Regions from separate parts of the Homo sapiens genome. Here region 2 is linked to region 1. The links are contacts of gene promoters, found by promoter capture Hi-C in human tissues and cell types (Jung and others, 2019). All regions are on one chromosome and are shown on one strand. The core of a region is centred on a gene start or on the middle of the fragment in contact, and the rest is flanking DNA. Distances in the headings are between cores, read along the strand shown. Region 1 holds the start of ADAMTS16 (ADAM metallopeptidase with thrombospondin type 1 motif 16). Region 2 has its middle 72 kb from the start of ICE1.

Evidence for each region. Contacts are between HindIII fragments. The study calls those that stand out against the background at their distance.
Region 2: a fragment that was not itself captured here is called in contact with the fragment with the promoter of ADAMTS16 in region 1 in 1 of the 25 tissues and cell types used here (heart right ventricle).

The regions. Positions count from the first base shown.
Region 1 is chr5:5,138,897-5,146,635 of GRCh38, forward strand. It overlaps ADAMTS16 (ADAM metallopeptidase with thrombospondin type 1 motif 16), which reads left to right and starts at 1,434. Exons shown (of 23, transcript NM_139056.4): 1 at 1,434-1,643; 2 at 1,768-1,870; 3 at 7,234-7,559. The coding sequence starts at 1,572. ADAMTS16-DT (ADAMTS16 divergent transcript) reads right to left here and starts at 1,158. Exons shown (of 4, transcript NR_109915.1): 1 at 1,060-1,158. It overlaps ADAMTS16-AS1 (ADAMTS16 antisense RNA 1), which reads right to left. Exons shown (of 2, transcript NR_198969.1): 2 at 3,242-3,475. RefSeq lists enhancers at 640-1,206, 6,566-7,739. The HindIII fragment of the contact is 9,507 bases long and covers 1-4,578 here.
Region 2 is chr5:5,490,792-5,498,530 of GRCh38, forward strand. No RefSeq gene overlaps it. Among named protein-coding and RNA genes, the nearest start is that of ICE1, 72 kb to the left of the region's middle. RefSeq lists silencers at 3,992-4,041, 4,082-4,161 and enhancers at 6,502-7,026, 7,027-7,549. The HindIII fragment of the contact is 3,187 bases long and covers 2,579-5,765 here.

The sequences.
Region 1 (7,739 bases), core at 184-2,683:
GACCTCGTGATCCGCCCGCCTCGGCCTCCCAAAGTGCTGGGATTACAGGCGTGAGCCACCGCGCCCGGCCTACTGCTCACTCTTTGGGTCCACTCTGCTTTCATGAGCTGTAACACTCACCGTGAAGATCTGCAGCTTCACTCCTGAGCCCAGCGAGACCACGAGCCCACCGGGAAGAACGAACAACTCCAGAGGCTCTGCCTTAAGAGCTGTAACACTCACCGCCTAGGTCTGCAGCTTCAATCCTGAGCCAGCGAGACCACGAACCCACCAGAAGGAAGAAACTCCGAACACATCTGAACATCAGAAGTAACAAACTCCAGACGCACCACCTTAAGAGCTGTACCCACTCACCGCGAGGGTATGCGGCTTCATTCTTGAAGTCAGTGAGACCAAGAACCCACCAATTCCAGACACACTATGGGCTCACAGCGTGTACTCGCGCACACGCAGTCAGGTGTGGATGTACACCCGCGCACACCCAGGCACATGTACACCCGCGCGCTCACACACCCCATCCAGCTACAGCAGAATTCTGGCCAGGCTGTTGACCGCACACCTGCTGCCTCCTTGGCCACCCTGTCCACACAGTAGCCCGATCGACCCCCGTGGCGGCCGAGACCCAGGCCCATCCGCAGCCCTGAGACCTCCCTAGGGATTGCACCCAGCAGCCAGTCACCGGCCTCCGCGGCCTGGCCAGTTGAGGGTGGCCGTGACCGCGGGGCCAGGAGCGCCGCCACATCTCGGGGCAAATGGCGCGGGGGAAGAGTTTCCTCCTCAGCCTCCCCGTCTCCGATCGCTCCGCAAACTCCAGAGCGAGGCACGCGCCTTTAAAGGCAGGTCCGCGGCTCTCCCACGTCCTGGCGCCCGGTTTTCCGCACCCAGTGTCCCCACAGCTGTGCCCGGGCACAGAGGCGCGGCCAGACCGCACTCCGCGGGCTGCAGGTGTCCCGGCCTCTGGCGGCGCCGGTGCGGCCCGGAGGTGGGAGCCCGCGGAGCCACTGCAGTAGCTGGAGTCCCGCCGAGTCCCCAGCCCCAAGGCAGGGCAGGAGCGCGCACCGGCCGGAGGTCCATGCTGAGCATCGCCCGCGCCGGTGCCCGGCAGCCTCTCCAACTGTGTGGTCCCCGCGCGGGCAGAGAGGCACGGACTGCAGGCCGTGGGCAGCTCCATCTTCCCGCGTCCTCCTCCTCTGGCGCTGCCCGCTGTCTCCCGCCTTCCCTCTGCTCCCCGCTCGCCTCCGCCTCAGCGCCCCGCTGACCTCGCCTCCTCCCCTCTGCTCTTTGTCCCTGCACTCTCCCCTCCTCGGTCCTCTGACCCCCCCGCCCTCACCTCCTCCCCTCCTCTCTCCCCTGCCCGCCCCGCGCTCTCCCACCGCTCCCGCCGCCCCCGCCGCCGCGGCTGCCACTCCGCCCCCCGCGCCGCACGGAGCTTCAGTAATAACCCCGGCGCGGCGGCGGAGTCGCTGTGGGGAATCCTCCCGCGCTCTGCCTGGGTCGGGTCCTCCCTGCCCGCTCGCACGCTGCCGGCCGGGGACCCTCCGGTGGCCCCTAGCCCCTCGGAGCGCTCCTGGATGAAGCCCCGCGCGCGCGGATGGCGGGGCTTGGCGGCGCTGTGGATGCTGTTGGCGCAGGTGGCCGAGCAGGTGAGTCCCGGGCGCTCCCACCAGCGCGGAAACCGCGGGTCCGGACAGCTGGAGGCGAGTCCCCCGCGGCTCCTCTCCCGCGGACCCCGCCGTCTCACCGCGATGTCGCCGCTGTTTTCCGCAGGCACCTGCGTGCGCCATGGGACCCGCAGCGGCAGCGCCTGGGAGCCCGAGCGTCCCGCGTCCTCCTCCACCCGCGGAGCGGCCGGGCTGGATGGAAAAGGGCGGTAAGTCCGTGAGGTGGGGGCTTCTAATCCTTGCCATTTAGCAGCTCGTAATCTCCGTGCCGCTGGTTTATTAGGTGCTGTGAATGTTCACGACTCTGTGGAACCCTACTTTTAAGATGCTGTTGTGAACTTTTTTTTTTTTTAACTGTATGAGCGAGCCCCGATGAGTGGATTTCCACCAATATTTACATTTTATTCCCTGGCAAAACGGTTTGCCAGAGTTATTGATATAACATTAGGAAAAAGGTGAGGAAGTTCATTTTATTTTATTCTAAAGAGCTTAGGAAGAATCTAAAGCTATTAATGTATGCATCAAAGCCGTCATAAAGAGCAAATTACTTTCTTTTCCGTCCCCTTCTACATCCTCGGATCCTCCTTCCCGTCCCCAACCTTTCCTCCTTCTCCTCCTTTATAGATTAAAATATTCCTCTATCGTTGCTTATTCTCAGTGAAGGAGATAAAAGAAGCGCTTAGCATCTCAATACCAAAGTTAATGCTCCAACAATCAGGGCGTACTTCAAACATAATAGTGCCTGAAATGGCTAATCAGCTGATTGTGACACCATCAGCAACGTTCATATCCTGGGCCACAATTTGACATGAGGGCAAGTCTTATTCTTTTTCAATGCATGCTTTTACTTCTGCCACTTACAAGTGACATTTGGAAATTTGCTGTCTTATGGAAAGGGATCTCTGTGTCTTCATACTGCATCAGGTAAATGAGAACGCAGGTGTGTCGCACTGGTTGCTAGGTGGTTTTTTAACCTGAACCCATCCAATGACAGTTAATAAATATTATTTTGCATTGTTACCAACAATAAATTGCCGTATCAAATGTTAATATTAATTGACTTTTATAGGAAGAACTAGGTTTCATTCTCTCAATGTATTTCCAGAAGATCTAGAAAATTAAAGTTAACAATTCAGAATTTCTCAGTATAGTTATTTCAATTTGATAAAATAACATAAAGGCAAGCACTTAATATATGCATTAACTTTTGAAATTATTCCCTGCCAAATGAGTACACAAATAGTATATAAGGTGACCGGTGTCAGATTGACGCTCACCATAGTACCTTTTTGAGAACCACCAGGGGGCGCTAGGTGCAAATGATATAAAATGTTAAAAAAAATTGTCACAGTGAATTTACAAGAGAAAGTTAATTATCTGTCCATTTACAGACTATCCTCTTGTGGTTGTCCTTGTCCTTTTTAGGGTTTTGCTTACAATACTAAAAGTTAATTCTTACAATTTTAAAGGTTAATTCTAATTCACCTTTTTAAGTAAGATTTTTGTAAAAAAAAAAAAAAAAATTCTAGTTCCCTAAAACCATGAAAATTCCAGAGGGACTCAGGAGATTTCCACAATAGTTTATGGCATTTATGAAGTTTTATTTAAGATAAAACACATTATAGACACAGAAGAAAGAAGAAGAAAAGCCAGGGCTTCGTGCCTAAGTGTGCTTTTCTCCTAAAGTGATTCAATCTGCTTCAGCATCCTCTCTGGGAGTGGGGTGCCAGTGTGCTGCTCTGAACACCTGGCACCACAGTTGTTGTCACAACGTATCGTCTCCATGACAACCACTTATCTGGCTTGGTAAGAACCTGAAGGGGAAGAGGCAAACCCTTCTTAGTGAAGTTCTAGCCCAGTGGACACAGCACACACCCTCCTCCCCTACCTTCTATGCACTTTAGCTCCTTAATTATAAATGGCTAATGTGTGAGTCTGGACATCCACAACAAGCTTTTATGCCACCAGAGAAAAGATCCTCCTCAACAGTGTTGCCTGTTTCCCTCTGACCTGGAGCAGAAGAGCTAGAAGACACTTGGTGACTGCTGGGGTCAACTTACTGTTGCCTGTCTAGGTATCCATTAGACAAGTTGGTTCTGAAATAACTAATTGTAGCCATACATTTTGTTTAAAGTAGCGCATGACTCAAACTATTATTGCAAATCATTCTTGGTGGCTGAAGTAATTACAAAATAGCAAAGAGAACAAAGCTGGAGGTGTCACACACTACCTACCTGACTTCAAACTATGCTACAAGGCTACAGTAACCAAAAAAGCATGGTACTGGTACCAAAACAGATATATAGATCAATAGAACAGAACAGAGACCTCAGAAATAACACCACGCATCTACAACCACCTGATCTTTGGCACATCTGACAAAAACAAGCAATGGGGAAAGGATTCCCTATTTAATAAATGGTGCTGGGAAAGCTGGCTAGCCATATGAAGAAAACCGAAACTGGACCCTTCCTTACACCTTATACAGAATCTAACTCAAGGTGGATTAACTATTTAAATGTTAAAACCTAAAACCAAAAGCAATTGCAACAAAGCCAAAACTGACAAATAAGATCTAATTAAACTAAAGAGCTTCTGCACAGCAAAAGAAACTATCATCAGAGTGAACAGGCAACCTAGAGAATGAGAGAAAATTGTTGTAATCTATCCATCTGACAATGGGCTAATATCCAGAATCTACAAGAAACTTAAACAAATTTAGAAGAAAAAAACAAACAACCCCATCAAAAAATGGGTGAAGTATATGAACAGACAATTTTCAAAAGAAGACATTTATGCGGCCAACAAACATATGAAAAAAACCTCATCATCATTGGTCATTAGAGAAATGCAAATCAAAACAACAACGAGATACCATCTCACGCCATTTAGAATGGCAATCTTTAAAAAGTCAGAAAACAACAGATTCTGGAGAGGATGTGGAGAAATAGGAACACTTTTACACAGTTGGTGGGAGTGTAAATTAGTTCAACCATTGTGGAAGACAGTGTGGCGATTCCTCAAGGATCTAGAACAAGAAATACCATTTGACCCAGCAATCCCATTACTGGGTATATACCCAGAGAATTATAAATCATTCTACTATTAAGACACATGCACACATATGTTTAGTGAAGCACTATTCACAATAGCAAAGACTTGGAACCAACCCAAATGCCCGTCAATGAGAGACTGGATAAAGAAAATGTGGCACATATACACCATGGAATTCTATGCAGCCATAAAAAAAGAATGAGTTCATGTCATTTGCAGGGACATGGATGAAGCTGGAAACCATCGTTCTCAGCAAACTAACACAGGAACAGAAAACCAAACACTGCATGTTCTCACTCGTAAGTGGGAGTTGAACACTGAGAACATATGGGCACAGGGAAAGGAACATCACACACCGGGCTTGTTGGGGGGTGAGGGGCAAGGGGAGGGATAGCATTAGAAATACCTAATGTAGATGGCAGGTTGATGGGTGCAGCAAACCACCATGATACATGTATACCTATGTAACAAACCTGTACGTTCTACACATGTATCCCAGAACTTAAATTATAACAAAAAAAAAATCAATGGTCACATGCTCACTAGCGAACATAATAACAATGCAGAGAATATAAAATAGAATTGTGCTAGTTTCTCTTCCTACCCCCCTCTGCCTTTACTATTTGCCTTCTGCATTTTGTCCAGATAATCTACAAGAATTTACTTATTGCCCTGTGTTCCTTACAGGCTACACTTTTTTTCCTTTAAAAGGTCACTTTGGCTTCAGAGCTTACAACGTACTTTGAAAGCTCATTATTTGATCAACTTTGCCTCATGTGGTGAAATAATATTTTAGATTTCATTCTTTTAGAGTATATTTTTACAAGCTTTAAGGTATTCCTTTCTATAGCTTTATGGTAATTTAGTTACCAATTATCCGTTGTTGATTATTGTTTAAAATTTTACCTCATTACAAATAATACTTCCATGAAAATATTTACATAAACTTTTTAAAATTCGTCTGGGATTATTTCCTCAGGGTGATTTCCCAGGTCAAAGTATTTTGCAACTCATTGCCAAAGCCGACTTTAGGAGGGTAGTGTCATTTTTATTTCCTGATATCAGCAGCGTTTGAAAGAGGTGGCCGGTGGTGGACTGATTTTTTGTTAATGCGATTGATTTCTATTTAGAAGGCTATACATCTCCTGCCACCTGTCCCACCCTTCTGTCTCTGTTTTCTGGATTCTCCTTCCCTGCTATCCTCTTAGGGTGCTCGTGAACATTCCTCTGCTCTTAGAGAGTTACAGGCTCTGTCTTTGAGTCTGGAGCAAGCTGCAGTCAGGTGCCATCTAAGCAGCCAACTGTGGAAAGAGTGGGAAGGGTGGAGCCCGTGGGAGATGCTCCTGTTGGGTGGGCGAGGCATGGAGCTCTGTCCGTCTCCCCCAGCCTTTTGGAATTGAGCTCTCCGAAAACAACTGGGGCCTCACGGGAGCCTTGCAGGGCTTCTTGGAGTTCAGTTTGCCTGAACGCGGAGATTATGAGCCTACCACTTATATATATGAGTTTTTAGATAGGACAAACTTTTCCTCTTGCAAGATTATTGTGTTTGAAGTCTTTCAAATACGTCTTTCCCATTTATGGAAAAAATACTGTATTAATAAAGACACCAAATCACTGTGAGAATAATTAAAATACATACATTTACAGTGAAATTAATTATATTAAAAACATTGCAATACTCAAAGCTCATCATTTCATAATTATTTCACTATATTTGATAATAATCTAGGCTCTTGAGGCCACTGGCCTCTTTTGCATCTGTATGGTAGAAATATCACACACTGGGGGCTGCTGCGTATCTCTGTGCACTGAATATTCAGTGATGGCACAGCAGTCATTGAAATCAGCCATGAGGGGAAGATTTACACCAGGGAAATTGGCAAATGCCAAAATCCAGGTCGTTCTTCTCCAGACAGCGGGTTGTTGAATGTTTATTACCACAGCATTGTGTTTATGTAAACATGGCTTACCAGTAGTTATTTTGCATGATAAATATTATATGTGCCCCCAGTAAAGGACGAATATTTTCTCTCTTCAAAATAAAGGTCATAAGAATATGACTTATTTCATCTGAGAATAATTTGATTTCTTAAAGAGTAATCACCTTTTTATACACAATAAAATGTGCTAACCTTCCACTGTTTGGAACAAGCCATCCTGCTTTCTGTCATCCTTCCCCTGACTCAGCTACAGTGGTAGGAGCTGGTGGGAGGTGAGGAGCATGCCCCTGAGTGGCTGGGAGGGCAGATGACAGCTGTTAACATCACCGCATCACTGTTGGAGAATTTCCTGGCTTGGTAATAGCACATTATGGGGCCCTTGTTACAATTTTTTTCTTTAAACTGTGATGTTCCATATTGCACACTTTGAATTCAGTATGGGTAGGTGTTGCATTTTTCTTCATCATTTTTGACTGGGTGGAAAGGTCATGTGGTAAAATAATATTATATCTTAAGACTTCCTGATTCTTCTCGGAATTCCGAAATGACTCAGCCTCTGCTCACTCTTTTGATTTCAGAATATGACCTGGTCTCTGCCTACGAGGTTGACCACAGGGGCGATTACGTGTCCCATGAAATCATGCACCATCAGCGGCGGAGAAGAGCAGTGCCCGTGTCCGAGGTTGAGTCTCTTCACCTTCGGCTGAAAGGCTCCAGGCACGACTTCCACATGGATCTGAGGACTTCCAGCAGCCTAGTGGCTCCTGGCTTTATTGTGCAGACGTTGGGAAAGACAGGCACTAAGTCTGTGCAGACTTTACCGCCAGAGGACTTCTGTTTCTATCAAGGCTCTTTGCGATCACACAGAAACTCCTCAGTGGCCCTTTCAACCTGCCAAGGCTTGGTGAGTACAGCGCAAGCCCCAGGTAGGGAGGCGAGGTTGGTGATGGTGGAAAGGAGAGCGTAACCAGGACTTTCCCTCGATTTCGCATAGATGTTCTTCTAGTACTGCAGCGCAGATTAAGCAGGAGGAATATTGCCAAGTAAAACTTTTCCAAAAAACATTGCGTGCCTCCTCTGGCCT
Region 2 (7,739 bases), core at 2,922-5,421, 350 kb after region 1:
CGTGGTCGAAGAGGATCTCTCTGAGGAGGTAACATTACAAGGACCTGGATGGAGGGACCCAGACTTGAAAGCAGGCAGGAGGAATGTCCCTGCTGGGGCAGCCCTGCAAGGCAACAATCCCATGAGTGCCAGAAGGAGTCTGCTGGAGCCAAAACACCTGTCACGTGTCCATGGGATCAGGTTAGATAACTGCCAGTCACTCAAGACAGCTGGGAGCACTTTCATGCTGAGTGGCATCTGAGGCTCCAGGGAGATTGAGTGGAGGTGTCACGTGCGATAGTTCACTGGAGCTGTTCTGATGAAAAGGGATGTGAGAAGGGCAAGAGGTGAAGTGGAGAGACCTGTTAGGAGGCGACTGCAACAGGTGGAGCTGGGAGCTGACGGTTGTGAGGGTGCAGATGACAAAGGGCAGATGGACTTCACATCTATTGGGGTAGAATTGATGCTGTGTTCATGAAGTTCCGGGGAAGAATCAGGGAAGACGTCCAGGTTACTGAGTTGAGCACCTGGAGTTGGGGATAGATGCACACAGGTTTAGGAATTACAGGTGGTAGGAATCACGACTCGAGCTTTCCATTTGGGACATGGGAACCATAAGACCTCCAAGGAGAGGTGGCAGGGAACCTTTACAGGAAAAACTATATAGAAGGGATGTGACAGAGCTTTGGAAGTTGATAGCATATGGAGACTACTTAAAGCTCTGTGTGTGTATTTCTGCGTTCACCTAGGGAGAAAAATAACTTCCCCCCAGTCCCTCCTATAATTTGAAGTGCCATGGGAGAGGGAGAAGATGAAAGACGGGGCAGGAGGTGTTTTGGGAGGAAACTTGTCAGTCATGTATTGTCCAGGCACTTGGCTACCGATGTGGCTGGAAGCTGCAAGGTCAGGTGAGGTGAGTGACCTTGGTGAGCATCTCCCACATACTGATGGGCTTGGAATGGGTGGCACAGGGAGTGGGAAGTAAGGAAGAGAGAAGAGCAGGGCGTGGTCCACTGAGTTTGTGGAAATTGTGCTTAGTGAGTGGATTTGTCAGGTGGTTCAAACATGTTAAACCTCAGCAGTCGTATGTGTTTTTAATTAATGGAGAGGAGGGGCACTGTCGTTTATTAGCACCCGTGCTGACTTTTGCTTGCCATACTTGTTCCTTGAGTTTACTTGGCAGCATCCACTCCATATGAACTGATGACGACAAATAATAGGCTTGAAGTTGCCCACTGTACTGTGTTATCCCCAGAGAGTGGAAAGGTTTTAAGCTGTTATTAATTTCTAGTACCGAAACAGAACATTATTTTAACGTTTTATTACTTGAACCAAAAAAAAAGACTAAAACTGTAAACACAAAAATGAACACTTTTCAGCCTGGAGTTAGATGAGGCTTTCAACTGGTGCTTGGCGGCTCAAGCTGGTTCCCCTGCAGCTTGATAAGCCTTTCAGTGCAGAGGTAAGCAGGAGACACTGAATCAGGCTGCGCTGGGCAAAGGCAGAGATTCTCGGAGCGTCTGCACATGATGGTATTTGCGTGGGAAGCCAGGGCAGCAGTGAAGAGGGTGAAAATGGTCAACAGAGTGTGGACGGACAGCAAGATGATTACACACTTCGGAGTGTCATTTTTCACAGAGAAAGTACTCTGTTACATTGTTTGTTTTTTAAAATAGGATGTGGCAGTGTAATTCAGCAAGTTCAATATTTAAGGAACATGAAATAGAAATAAATTCATACCTGGACTTGGAAAGAACTGCACTGTAGCCATTAGAGGGCACTGTAGACTCACCCATGAACAAACCATCCGGAAGAGACAGGGAACCTTAACTGGAGAGGTCGTCTGGGTGCAGAATTTGGCGCTCTGAGAGCCTTTCTATCAGGGAAGCATTTCCATTCACGTTTGGGGTGTTCCTTGCACTTCCTAGGGCCATTATTAATAAGTAAATGGGGAAAATGTGTGGATAGAATAACATGTAAAGTTCGTGTTTAAGAGCACATTTCAAAAAAGAAAAAAGCAAATACTTAAGTCCTTTGATCAAAAAACAACAAGAAGAAAGGGAAGGAAGGGAGAAAGAAGAAAAGAAAGAGAAAGAGAAAAAGAAAGGAAGGAAAGAGGAAAGAAAAAGAGAAAGAAAAAAAGAGAAAGGAAAGAGAAGGAAGGAGGGAGGGAAGGAAGGAAGGAAGGAAGGAAGGAAGGAAGGAAGGAAGGAGGGAGGGAGGGAGGGAGGGAGGGAAGGAAGGAAGGAAGGAAGGAAGGAAGGAAGGGAAGGAAGGAAGGAGAAAGACAAGCAAGTGACCAGGTGAGTAATTGGTAGTGGCAGTGAAGTGAATGGCAGGTTGTGTCACTCTCCTCTGATGAACTGGCAGGCAAAGAAACTAGTCAATTAAGTCATCCTGCCCACATTGAACATTACTTTTTTCAAGCATCCCTGACGCATTATCTTGTGTAGAACCATATTACAAAGAATTTATAGTGCGAATAGAGCTCACACCTGGAAATCTAATCAACCGCCCTCATTAAGACTTAGGATGCAACAATGTTTCAATGAGGGGTGTTTTAAAAATTTAGGAGAAAGTTGAAAAAGTCAGATCTATAAACTTGTAAATGCTTTCCTCTCTTGCTTGCTTCCATCTACCTGACGCTTTCTCAAGGAAATTCAGAGTGCATAATTGTGAAACAAGAAGTTCATTTTCTTGCCCCTCCAAGGGGAATTTTGAGGAATTAAAGCGCCCTCACTGTATTGTAGTCAGTTTGTTTTGCACAACGAAATAGGTTCTGATGACAGAGGCAAAAACAGAAGTGTGAGTGAAGAGCCATAAAAATGATATAATTCAGTTTTCTATGAAAATGAATGCTTTTGCTTGCTTTCATGAAGAACTTTGTGTTTTTGTGAAGGACGTTAGTACCTTGGAATGCCTTGGCTCAGGCCACCTTGTCTTCCAAAGCACACAAGATGTGTCTCATCAGGGTGTCAAGGTGCCAGCGTTCACCCTGGAGCCCAGCTCTCATCAGCCATTCTCTTAACTGCACCTTTCGCGGGGCCTGTCGGCAGTGGGGAGCCTAAATCACACCTGGCTTCTTAGGACTGGAGATTCTAGAGCTTCACCCAAAACCCTTGAGTTTGAAACTCCGGGGGTGCCTCCCGGTGACATGGATGCCCCCAGCAGTTGGGTAGACACTGCCCAGTAAGTTCTCTGAGCATTGCGGCCTGCTCTGTTCTGCACCCGAGGTCTGCTCACCCTCCCCCTGCCTGAGCGGCCTCTGCCTTCTCAGCTGCTTTCTGTCTTCAGAGGGTCACAGCTCTGGTCTCTAGATGGCTTTCCCCACCGTCCCATCCCTTGATCCATTTCCATGGAAATTTGGAAAGAGGAGAAGGTAAGCTGTTCACTGCCTTCCACCACCTTGAACTGAATCCAGTCCCTAGCTGGTTTTGTTTTTAATTTTTCCCATAGTCTTTAAGAATATTACTTTTTCCTTAACAGTCATCAATTGCTGCTCTGAGATAACCTCACCCTAAATTACGAGTACACAACTGAAAAACTCAAAAGGGAAGGCGAGGAGCTGAGAATGTAAACCCTCAACTACCAGACCTTCCACAGCCATAAACGGACCCTCCTAGGTATTGTTTCTCTGTATTAATTATTGTTATACTATATCCATTTTAATAGTTTCACTTGTAATGCAATATATACTATTCTTGAATAGCCTCCTCTTGCCTGTGTATTATTGTATGCATATAGCAAATTAAACATTGAAACGGGTCGGCACTGGAATGCCCTCTCCCTGTCGCCCAGGCCCTGTTCTCCCGGGGCTGCACTGACTGGCGGGTCTTTGGCTGCCCTCGCAGAGATGCCCGGGCAGATGGAGGTCTCAGGGCTGAGGACACCGCCTTCGTAGCCCCGCCCTGGCGGCCCCGCCCGTAGCCTGAGGCCCTGAGGCCCAGCGGCCCCGCCCCCGCAGCTCCGCCCCCGCAGCCCCGCCCCTGCAATCCTGGTACCCGAAGCTGCGAACCCGCAGCGCAGGCCCAGCCTCCGCAGCGCCATCTCTGCAGCCCAGTCTCTGCAGCCCCGCCCCCGCAGCCCCACCTCCGAACCCACAGCCCCGCCTCCGACTCTGCAACCCCGCCCCGCAGGCCTGCCGGCAGGTGCCTAACAGTGACCTCGCCGTGCTGCACTCCCTGCGCGTTGGTCACTTACAGTCGTCGCAGAGGTGGATAAAACTTGAGGTGCCTCCTTCTGCCCTCTTCAGCTACTTATTCCTGCCAGTGCATACTCCGGCCCTGTGCGTGCGCTTCCACTGGGGAAGTTGTCCCCTGGGGTGGAAGGGTCGAGGCCTCCGTGGGCTTCGGGTTACTTGGGGAAGCTCGTGACCCTTGGAAGCGAAGCTGCTGGGCAGGCTGCGGGAAGGCTCGCTGGCGCGGGGCTTAGGATTTGGGATGCAGGAGCTTCCTCTAGGGGTGCGCCTCCTGGCTCGCCGCCAGGGACCGGGCGCTGTCAGGCCTGAGGCCCCTGTGCCCCAGATCCTCCACGGCGGCTGTGCTGGAACCCCACACTTGCTGGACGTGTGTGCCGGGATCCCCGAGTCCAAGCCAACACCAGCGAGATTCTTAAAACTATCCTTGGTAAAAATGTAGCAAAACCTCAAATAAAGTAAACATTTTGATTTTTGAATAATAGTCACATTTAGAATATTGCAACAGTTTTGTAAGAAAATAACACCTTGAAATGTTTCAGGAGTTGGACTTCAGAGGCAAAAGCATGTTTGCGATGAGGTAACCTGTCTCGGTGTCTTTGCATCCTGCTGTGCCCCACCGTGTTTTGAAAGAGGGTTGCAGAGTCACTGACCCTGTGGGATGGCCAAACTGCACATGCCCAGCGCTCTGCCCGCCCCAGGGCACCTCTCCCACCTGCCAAGGAACCTGCTCCCACCCTGACCACTCGCAGATAATCCAAGACTCACTATATCTTAATGGAAAACCACAGTCACATTGGCAAATGTTTGGACAACCCGAATCTGACCTCCAGAAAGGAGAGCCCCGCGCACCCCCTGCTCAGGAAGACTTGGCTGTGCGAGTGAAAGTGTGCAGCTGTGAGGAGAAAGCCCTTCCTGGCCTGTTGCCCTGTATTTTCTGACCACTACGTTTCCTTTGGTTAAAAAAAAAAAAAAAGTCTCTGGAGAAAGATGATAGAGTCCTTTATTAAAAGGCATTTAGCCTACAGGAATGTCTTCTGCTAAATGAGGTTCTCTGTCAGCCCTACAGCTGCCTCAGACATAAAAAAGGTGTATGGGGAAAGCTCCAGGGTCCTGAGCCTATCGAACAGGTGATCCTGAGCCACCCCAGCCATTCCAGGACGCTCCCATTAGTCACTCAGAAGCTGTTCATAAGCTTCTCTTTCAAATCACCCCTCGTGTCCCGGGAAGAAGGGGAAATGGTCTACAAGGCGGAAGAACCTACAAATTGTAGGATGTTTACTTAATCCAGGGCCTTGTTAGTGTGGAAACACATCTGTAAATGCAGAATTGAGCTCACAATGCCCTGGCAGCAGCGATGCTCTTTAGAGCTGTGTCGCTGTGTTCCAGGAGACATGTGTTCGCCAAGGAGGAGAAAACCAAACAGGACCCTGTGCCTACCTTAAAATGCGAAAGTGCTTTATGAAACAATGAGCTTCTCTTGCAGGTCATTCTCCAGAATGCCAATTACATACTTATTCTTCCTGCTTGAGAAACGGGAAACATATTCCGTTGTCCAGGAGAGCCATCTGCATTGTGGTTGCTGCACCTTCATGGAAGGAGGGAAATTGTGACTTGCAGTCGAAGCCGAGGGTTCCAACAACTTTTGTTCTGAATTTCTGTAACGGAGGGCCATCCTTTATTTGCATGTTGAAAATCTGTTTGTTAAGTCTGCAGTGGAGCAGAAAATAGAATTTTTAAAGCACTCTCTCCTGACCTTTTCTATTTCGTATTTTTTAAGAGACAGAAATTTAACCCCTATCACATTGGCAATCATCCGGAATAATGTTTTAAATGCATCTTTGTGTTTGTAAAACTTGCTTCGAGATGAGAAAGTAAGTTTTCTGGATTTTGACGCAGTTTTGAAGTGCAGCATGTTAATTTCTAAATAGAAGCACTGGCATTGGATAAACTAAAGTAACGTGAATATAATTCTAGGAACTATAAGCTTACTTTCCTTATTTCTGGCTTTCTTTAGCTCTACGTATCTATTTTTTAATGCACTTAAGAAAAAAGCTATGCAATTGTGAAGGGTTTTTTTTATTATTATTATTCACAGGTTGAGGTTCATTTTGTCTTTCATCTGACAATTCTTTTCATTTAAATTCCACAATATGCCCGAGTGAGCAAAGAGAAAGGAGTCAGGGAGACAGAAATCTTCAAACTAAAACAAACAAACAAACAAAAAACATGCTATGCCTGGCTTCCCAAGCTGATTTTTTGGTTACTGTTATTACTAACCCCATACAAGTGTTTTTAGTGGGAAATAATGTTGATTCAGTTCCCCGGCTCTGGTGCCCACGTGAGCCCTGCAGCCGCCTGTCCTCCCCAGCAGGGAGAGCTCTGCGCTTTGATCATGAACCCTGGCTCTCAAAACGGTTCTTTCATATGGAAGCTCTCCTTCTTCAGACCAAGAACAGGCTTAGGAAAGAAAAGAAACAAAAGGCGTATTTCAAATCCACCCAATGCCATCTTTTTTCAAACATGTTCCTCATGTATATTTCAAAGGGGCCGTTTCCACAGAAGCAAAGACTGCATGAGCCAGTGGCGGCAACGCTTCTAAAGCGCTTGAGAGGGAACTTCCAATAAAGAGCTTTACAGACAGCATTGAGAAATTAGATACTTTTCGAATATTGCAACAGTTTTGTAAGAAAATAACACCTTGGAATGTTTCAGGAGTTGGAGTTCAGAGGCAAAAGCATGTTTGCGATGAAGTAATCTGTCTCTGTGTCTTTGCATCCTGCTGTGCCCCACCGTGTTTTGAAGGAGGGTTGCAGAGTCACTGACCCTGTGGGATGGCCAAACTGCACATGCCCAGCGCTCTGCCCGCCCCAGGGCACCTCTCCCACCTGCCAAGGAACCTGCTCCCACCCTGACCACTCGCAGATAATCCAAGACTCACTATATCTTAATGGAAAACCACAGTCACATTGGCAAATGTTTGGACAACCCGAATCTGACCTCCAGAAAGGAGAGCCCTGCGCACCCCCTGCTCAGGAAGACTTGGTTGTGCGAGTGAAAGTGTGCAGCTGTGAGGAGAAAGCCCTTCCTGGCCTGTTGCCCTGTGTTTTCTGACCACTACGTTTCCTTTGGTTAAAAAAAAAAAAAAAAAAGTCTCTGGGGAAAGATGATAGAGTCCTTTATTAAAAGGCATTTAGCCTACAGGAATGTCTGTATTATTGTGATAGTGATTATTAAAAAATAATCGCAATATAACTTGCCTGGAATTGTTGTTGTTAAAAAGGGTTAGGAATACTTGCATGTCTTTCAGATCGAGGTGGAAAGGGGAGCACCTATAGTTTCTCATGGCTTCATGGGGCTCCTTGCACCCCTGGTAATTGTCTTTTGTCTTGGTGTAGCAATTATGAAACAAGACAAGTGTATCATAAATCATATTTTTATAAGAGTCATCCCCAAATTTTTGGTAGGGCTTAAAACTTTTTTTCGACACAAAATACAGTGCCCCCAAGAAATGTCCATTCAGATAATGAGAATTTGACCTCACAAGACATTTCCGCTCAAAAGA